3 separate regions of the Homo sapiens genome follow, and regions 1 and 3 are each linked to region 2. The links are contacts of gene promoters, found by promoter capture Hi-C in human tissues and cell types (Jung and others, 2019). All regions are on one chromosome and are shown on one strand. Each heading gives the region's core, a stretch centred on a gene start or on the middle of the fragment in contact. The rest is flanking DNA. Distances are from core to core; before and after follow the strand shown. Region 1 has its middle 41 kb from the start of NDNF-AS1. Region 2 holds the start of NDNF (neuron derived neurotrophic factor). Region 3 has its middle 45 kb from the start of TNIP3.

Region 1 (2,700 bases), core at 40-2,539, 43 kb after region 2:
ATTTAATTATAACTCTGACAGTAGTGTGTTTCTGAGAAAAATTGTTTATAATAAACAGAACCAAGTGTATGAATACATCATAGGCATAGAAGTCTGACTGACTGTTCATTCTCATCTTTTCCTATAAAATGAACTCAGACCTATTTAAATAGGATTAATATATTAGTTCCTTTCACCATGCAGGCCTGATAATTTCCACATTGCCAGACCAACAAACAGTTTTTGGAAGAAGCATGCCACCCTCAAGAACCACTGGTAAATGTCTCACAGGCATCTGAATTTGTCTGACCTGGTTTGCGCTCTGTGGGTCCATATGGCTGAAGTAACAAGATTGTGGCTCAACTAATGTCACAGTTATAACAATAGACATAGATTGCTACATGAGCAGTTTGGTAACAGCAACTGATCTAGTCACAAATATGGCCCATTTCCAATGGTTGAGTTTCCGTGTATCACAGTAGCTACAGTAGCTTCAGCAACATTTGATGTTTCCAGCTCTTCTGGATGTGGTAAGAACTTTAAGTGAGAGGGACAAACAAGCATACTTACATGTTTTAAATAACCAAATAAAATTCAACCAGTTTTATTATGGTAAAATATAACTTTAAAAACATTTTTAAAGAAATAGCAGATTCTTGGTTGACTATTTTAAAAGAGTAATATTGAATATCTCCTTCCTGCTGAATAAAGCTTGTCATTCTTCTTCAAATAAAGAGGTCAAGCTGTAAATTACAGCTTGCGGAATTTTGCCTTCTATTATGCACAGGATCCCAGGTTCTGTTGGGTTGTCCTGGGGTGATCATCAGGTATGGAAAAAGATAAAAGAGATATGAAAGCTGGGTAAGAATCACAACATTTACATCTAAATTGAATTTTGTGCAAGTTCCATTGACTAATGGCAGAGAGCTGTGCTTCAAATACAGCTGTGGTCTGAGCAAACTTGGCTGCTCTAAATACTGAATGCCAGTTCCTTTGCCAATTCCATGGGCAAGCATTCCAGGAGGCTTGAGTTAAAATGTGCAGATAAATACTCAGTTCTGGAGTTTTTTGGTGCCAAAGCATACAAAATACTTATGTTCTGCTATGGAAATACTGGAAGAACAGAACTTCTGTTTTTAATATCTCTGAGGATTTAAAACAGTTCTTAGACTACTTATTACCTTTCATAAAACTCACTCCTACTTTAAAAGTCTCTTGGTGGCTTACCTATATTAAAAAGAGGAAAAGAATTCTTTTTGATTCTGCTGAGTTTTCTCTTCTCTATTGAAGTTAAGCAAGCTAATAAGAGGACAGCAGAGGAAAGAGTGCAGAAGTGGGACTTTGGGCATTTTCTTAAACTTCTGTGGGCTTGAGCTTTCTCATTTGTAAAATGAGAAGGGTGATGATCTCCTAGATTCCTTTTTGGAGAAGCAGGGAAACTAACAACCTTTAAGCACATACTGAGTGCCAAGCATTTGAAATACCGTTATTTAATCCTTGTAACAACCCTGAGATGGAGACATTATTGTATTCTCATTAAGCAGAGGAGGAACCCAAAGAACAAAGAAATTATATAATGTGCTCAAGGTCACAAAGTTAATACAAGATGGAGCTGGAATTTAAACACAGATACATCTGGTACCAAATGAATGCGTTTTTCCACATCCACCTGTATGCTTGTGAGTTCTAGTGCTACTTAGTGAATCTCACCAGAATAGAATACATGACAAGTCCCTTACTAAAACTGGAGAAAGTCAAAGTATATTAAAGCTTGGCCTGCATATTTATAAACAAGTTTTCTCTGACATAGATAAATATCAAGCATTAGGGACAGAAGACGAATAATTGACAAAGTATTGCTAAGTTGCTCTTATTGTGTAGAACTTTCCCATTTTAATGGTGACTCATACTACCATAAAAACTTTGTTTGGTATTTGTTTGTGTCTTATTATATAGAGTTTGATGTAATGCTTACATATGGCATAATGTGTCTTTAATATGATGTTAATAAACCTTTATTTAATGCTTTTGTTTTTTAGCATATAAAGAGTTGTCTGTGGTTGTCTTTGTTTTTGTTTCTGCTTTGCCCTTGCACATGTTTGACTTCTGTTATCATTTTTTAATAGCAGATGTTTACTGGGCCTTCATTAGATACCACATCCTGATATGATAGTTATAGCCTGAGCTGAGGCATCTCTTTAATCCACATAACAACCTTATGAAGTAGACACTGTTGATTTTCCACATTTTACTGATGAAGAAACCAAGGGTCAGAGAAGTTAAGTAACTTCCCCAATTTCATGCAGCTAGTATGGGGTGCAGTTCTGTGTCCAATTCAGGGTTTTAGATAACGCCAGTGCAGGAAGGGATGATACTTATTTACTGCCTTTGGGAAAGATCCTCTGACTGCTTTCCAAGGAACTCATCGGCACAAATCTACTTTTAAAGTTTGTTAGACTTGTGTTCGTTCTACAAAGCACTTGTTTTGATGGCACATCAGATACTTACTATTGACATTCTTGTGATTTGCTTTATTACACTTTTGTTTCTATATAAATTTTTCCTCATGTACTTCAAAGTGAAGGAGTTCACACAGCCACTTCCACAGTCCCAGGCTGAGAGCTAGTGATCTTCATGTCCTGCATGGGAAAGGAGCGGGCTGATGACAGGATTCAGGTAGCATCAGCAGGGCTTGTTTGGTTGGACTCCATCCTGGACAGC
Region 2 (2,700 bases), core at 92-2,591:
ATAAGACATACCTGGTACACAGCAGGGACTTCGTAAGCTTTGTTAATGAATGACCCAGGGATCTGCTCTAGATCGTATCTCCTAAGTGGAGATACAATGAGGACTTTTCTCACCTCATTGTCTCATCTGCAAAAAATATGCTTGCACAGTGATCTGAAATGTCCTTTTCAGTGTTTAAAAATTTTACAAAACTATTTTATGTCGTGTAAACGGTTTTATAAATCCATTTCCTGCAGTGTTTTCATCTAGGAACCACAAAACTTTAGGAGCTGCATTGGTCCACCCTCTGTGACCAACTGTTTAGCAAAAAAGATCATAGTTCTTAATATGACCGGGATAAGGCTGATTTTCATCCTACCTACCTTAATTTCATTGTGGCAATAACAGAACTAGTGTTTTCAATACTGACACTATATCTTAATAAATAATTATATATTATTAGAACTTATATAAAACCAGGTTTGCTGGAAATCAGGTTCTCAGTTGCAAAAATGAGATCACCAAATCATTCGGTACTTTTTTTTTCTTGGTTTTCCTAAGCCCAGGCCAGGTTGCTAATTAGGTAACTTTTTATCATAATTACCTAGTCAGCCTTAATGGCTTCACACACTCTGCTCCGTTTCACTGGTCCTGTAGGGCCGCTTTTTCAATTGTTAAAACAGCTGCTGAGTTTCAAATCGGAGGAGGCTCGGTCTGCGCCGAGGGGGAAGCGCTCCCTGAGTGAAGGCTGTGATAGGCAGGCGTTCGGGTGAAAAGTGGGACATGAATGCACAGTTTGCACACTCTGCTTTCCGCCTCCAACCACCAACCTTCTGGATTTAACACGTCCCCCTCCCTGCCCCCAGATCAACCCCAGAGTTTCCCTCTATTGTGCACCCCGGTCTGCTTGACAGTGTGATGGTCCCGCGTGCGCGTCTCCTGGGTTTTGCAGCTTTGTCGGGGGCTCGGTGGGCCTCCTTCATTCTCCCCGAGTGGCGCTAAGGTTAGGACAGCAGCGTGTCCCTCGCGATGCCGCCCGCGAGGGTCCTGTTTGGGGAGCGCTGGGTCGCTGAGCAGGGTGGTGTGTGTGTGAGAGAAAGAGAGGGAGGGAGGGCTACAGGGAGAGAGAAAAGGAGGGAGAGGGTGTCTGTGTGTGAGTGTGTGTATGTGTATGAGTGTGTGTGTGTGTGTGTGTGTGTGCGTGCGCGCTGGCGCGCAGCGGGAGGGAGAGAAGGAGGGACGGAGGGGGAGGCAACGGGCAGAGGAGGGAGGGGGCGGGCGGGCAGCGGTGAGGCGGGAGGGGTTAGGGCTGGGAGGGGAAGAGACTCCGGGCTTCAGCAGTGACACTCGGGAGCGAACACACACTCCCCACTTCCAGCCGCGAGAGAGTGGAGCTAACTGAGCAGCGCACCCGCCACGGCCGCTGCCGCCCCGTGCGCCCGGCTCTCCCAGCACCCCGCGCGGCGCTCCAGCCAGGCGCCTGTGCGACTAGCGGCGGCCGGCGAAGCCCGCGCCAGCCCCGCGGGTCGCTGCGGCATCCTCCCGCCGCCCAGCCCCCGCACGCTCCCTGCAGTTTAAAAGGACCTCCCGCCGCTTCTCGGCGCTGCCCCGGGATTCCCCAGCCCCGCGCGGCTCCCTACTCCACTTCGCAGCAACTTCGGCGACCGCGCGCCGCCCGCCCTCGCCCGCCTTTGAAGTTTGCTGTGCCGACCGCAAAGTTGGGACACTTCAGCGGATTGAATTTTTCTCTTTTATCTGCCTCCGTCCCCGCCCTCCAGGCTTCTCGTTCCTGGATATTGGTGCTTAGCATCTTGGCAGGGTCCGGGGACGTGGACTATTTCGCACACCACACCACGGGGAGGGATTTTTTTCTATTTTCCCTACGAAAAACAGATCTTTTTAAGGTAAGTGGGGAGAGGAAAGCAATGCCCCAGAGACCCGACGCCTTAGCCCGCCACCCTGAGACCTAGCACAAGGAGCGTTCACGCCCGAAGGGTCATCCGAGATGGGGGCTCGAGGCACGCGCCCCCAAATCTTCAAGGCCCAAGAAGCTTCTCAAGGGCGCCCTATCCGTAGGAGCTGAGGGCATGAGGGGCAGGAGCAGGTTTCCCTCGTTTTTTTTTTTTTATTGTTGTTGTTGTTTGTTTGTTTGTTTGTTTTTAATTTAGCTGCTTTCGAAGCTGGGCGGCCCGGAGAGATGTGAGGAGGTGGACAGACAGCGCAAGGGCGGGGAAGACCTGGGACCCGGGAGCTCGGGGTGCAGTGGGGTCTGGGGAGCCGCGGAGCCTTTATCCCGGACTTAGCCTGGACACTTACTTTGCCCGCCTGCCAAGAGGGCTGTTGCCTCCCTTTCCAGGTTCATGCCCTCCGCCCGCCGCTAGGGAAAGTCTGCGGGACTGGGGTTTTGCAGAGGGCGTCTGCGTGTAGGGCGAAAAGCTAGAGGTCCAGGCAGCGCACGAGTTCTTGGTGGGCGTCTGGGAGCTGCGCAGCCGGGGCCGGGAGTTCGGTTGGCCCGACCCCCAACCGCTCTGGCTCCTCATTTGTCCTCTGCGTGGTAGGCGAGCATCGTTATAGAAACTTCCTTGGGCTGAGCGAGGTGGCCTGGGACCGGCTCATACTTTCTTCCGGAGAGCAGAGCGGCCACCGAGGTGACGCCCCCTACGGCCCCAGCCAGGAGACTCGGCTTCGTGCCCTCGTCCTGTCTGTGCGTGAGTTGGGGTT
Region 3 (2,700 bases), core at 105-2,604, 47 kb before region 2:
AAATTAGTATCTTTTTGGACAGTTGGTCAATTCTACACGTATCCTCTTGGTCACTTATCTATTTTGGATCTTACTGTTTGTCAATATCATTTATTAGAAGTTTCTTTCATTTTCAGAAAACTATACTGTATGTACAGTGATGGGTGATGAGAAAGAAATAGAGATATTTCCTACGTTTTCTATTGTCAGAGGAAAATTATTAGCAGCCATGAGACGATGCAATGAAGCAAAGGGAGACTGAAGCTCCTTTTAATTTTCGATATATTCCTTGGTCTTTCAGCGCCTCTAGTAGTCTTGCCCTCATTATATAAAACACAGTAGTAAAGCTGTCACAATTTGGCAGTTTAAATTAGAGAAAAATATTGAAATTACATTAAATTTATATAAATGGTCCCAAAATATCTTAATTTATGGTAAGCAATTAGAAGTACCTTATTTCTTAGTAATGTACTTGCACTTTAAAAAAATACATCAAAGTACTACCATATCTAGGGTTAGTTAGAATGTAGCAATGGCACATTCAAGGAGTCTGCCTCTCTGAGAGTTTATCTTTCAATTTTGAAATTCTGAAGATTTATCAGTTTCGTATTCTACAGGCCACAATTCAAAGTTGAGGACCACTTGAGTCAGAAGTGTTTACTTTTGAAAACTAAGAGCATTTTGCCTTTTGGCCATTACACAAAATCCTTTTTATAATTTTCATTTTGCAGTTCTGAAGAATTTTAAGTAAAACTCTGATTCCAGTGTTTTTAAGATTATCTCCTTTAGAAAAGCAAATTATATCACTTAAGGAGAAGCTAAATCACAAATGTGGTTATAGAGTTAGCAATCTAGCAGAATGACAGCTTTTGATCTCATATTATAGTTTTTAGGCATCCTGATGAAGCCTAACTTACATGTTAACATAGAGAAATTTGGAAGGTCTGACAATATTTCAGAGTAAATTAGCTTCAGGAATGTTCCTGATATTAAGGCCTGCAAAGCACCTACAATTTTCAAGAGACAATCAGGCTGTCAATCAGTTTTCACAAAATATGCATCTCAGATCCTAAAAAAATGGAAGTACAAATATGTCAAAAATATACTTGAAACTGTTGTTTAAGTGACAGGAAATTACTGATAGGAAGTATATACTCCAAGTGTTCTTTCCTTTGTAGCTAAATCTGTGAAAACTTTTATAAATCTCACAATTTTAAAACAAACGTTCTACTTTGTCTAGTAAATCCTAATTTAACGTATTTGTTCAATTCTAAGTATACCATAAAATAGTCAGATGGACAATTGAAGTATCCTAACAGAAATTTAACAGTGAAAGAACTAAGCTTATGATAAAAAGAAATTTCTTCAGATAACTTTCTGAAAGTGTTTTTGCACCTATAAACATGACATCTAAGTGCATTTCAGATTCTTTATAAAAGATATCCAAATTCACTACTAAGAATATGGCAGCTTGGAAAAGTTAGCAACAGCCAGACAGGTGTGGCATTTTCATGTTCTTGCACTGTGGATTGCTAGAATAAGAAACTGAACTCAGAATGTAATAAGCTTAAAAACAAATTCTTTTTCTCCTCCTCTCATCTAAGCTGGTCTTTTCACAATCTCCTGTTTTCACAAGTGTCTGGAAGTAGGAGGAAGAGGGAGTAGGCAGAAAGAGGGAAGGTAGGAGGTTGATTGGTGAGGTGGAGAAAGGAAGACATCAAAGAGCAGTCATCACCTGTCACTCTGAGCAAAACCAATTAGCTTCATTCATTGGGAACCCCAGGAATATCGCAGCCAGAAACCAGCCTTAGTGTCAATGTCTTTGAAGCATCGAAGCCATCTTTGGTAAATTAGCAGCCACTCTAGCTGCATCATGACCCTCAACCAGGCCAGCAGAGAACACTTTTCTGAAAATTGCCATGCTCTTCCTGGAATAAGAGTCATTAAGTTGTTTTCTTGAGTTTCTGGATCTTAGCACATAGTTCACAGCAGAAGAAGCTTCTCTGTACAGTATTCTTCAATTGCATCAAATCAGCTCCAATAGCCCACAAGGGAAAGGGGCTTGTCTTTGCTTTGTTATGCTCCTGACATTCATCAAAATCACTACATTTGTTTTTTGCTCTTCACAAACTTTCCTAAGATGAAAAGATGTTTTTCCTTCTTCCTTTTCCACTGGCTATCACTGCCTTGGGTGTTTTGAAGATTACACTTCACGTGGAACTCCTCTTATTGATCCAGAACCAGTGATGTTGGACTGCACGGCCCTCACAGGGCCAGGGATGCATCACTGAGCCTTCCACATGGAAACAGTATCCCTCTGTGGCCAGACTGGCTCCCAAAAGTGAGGGAGAAGTCCCATAAAGTTTTGCAGAAAAAATATTGTGAACCAATGTACTTGCCAAAATCTTGTAACATGCGTGAATGCTCTCTCTCTCTCTGTCACACACACACACGCACACACACACACACACACACACACACACACACACACACTGTATATAGGAGCTCAGAAAATATATCACTCATGTGAAGTTCTAAAAAAAAATGTTTTGAAGATACATTGTAGCTGAAGAACATATTATAGATGGAATAGATGGTAAATTAAAAATATAAAACCCTAGTGGCTCACGCCTGAAATCCTAGCATTTTGGGAGGTGGAGGCAGGCAGATCACTAGAGGTTAGGAATTCAAGAGCAGCTTGGCCAACATGGTGAAACCCCA

The links. The method cuts DNA at HindIII sites, captures the fragments that hold promoters and counts their contacts. A contact is called where the count stands out against the background at its distance.
Region 1: a fragment that was not itself captured here is called in contact with the fragment with the promoter of NDNF in region 2 in 3 of the 25 tissues and cell types used here (H1 embryonic stem cells, heart left ventricle and psoas muscle).
Region 3: a contact is called between a fragment that was not itself captured here and the fragment with the promoter of NDNF in region 2, in 1 of the 25 tissues and cell types used here (aorta).

Annotation. Positions count from the first base shown.
Region 1 is chr4:121,028,619-121,031,318 of GRCh38, reverse strand. No RefSeq gene overlaps it. Among named protein-coding and RNA genes, the nearest start is that of NDNF-AS1, 41 kb to the left of the region's middle. The HindIII fragment of the contact is 4,458 bases long and covers 1-2,700 here.
Region 2 is chr4:121,071,176-121,073,875 of GRCh38, reverse strand. NDNF (neuron derived neurotrophic factor) reads left to right here and starts at 1,341. Exons shown (of 4, transcript NM_024574.4): 1 at 1,341-1,883. NDNF-AS1 (NDNF antisense RNA 1) reads right to left here and starts at 2,514. Exons shown (of 3, transcript NR_187407.1): 1 at 2,296-2,514; 2 at 12-126. The HindIII fragment of the contact is 5,612 bases long and covers 1-2,700 here.
Region 3 is chr4:121,117,748-121,120,447 of GRCh38, reverse strand. No RefSeq gene overlaps it. Among named protein-coding and RNA genes, the nearest start is that of TNIP3, 45 kb to the left of the region's middle. The HindIII fragment of the contact is 3,345 bases long and covers 1-2,700 here.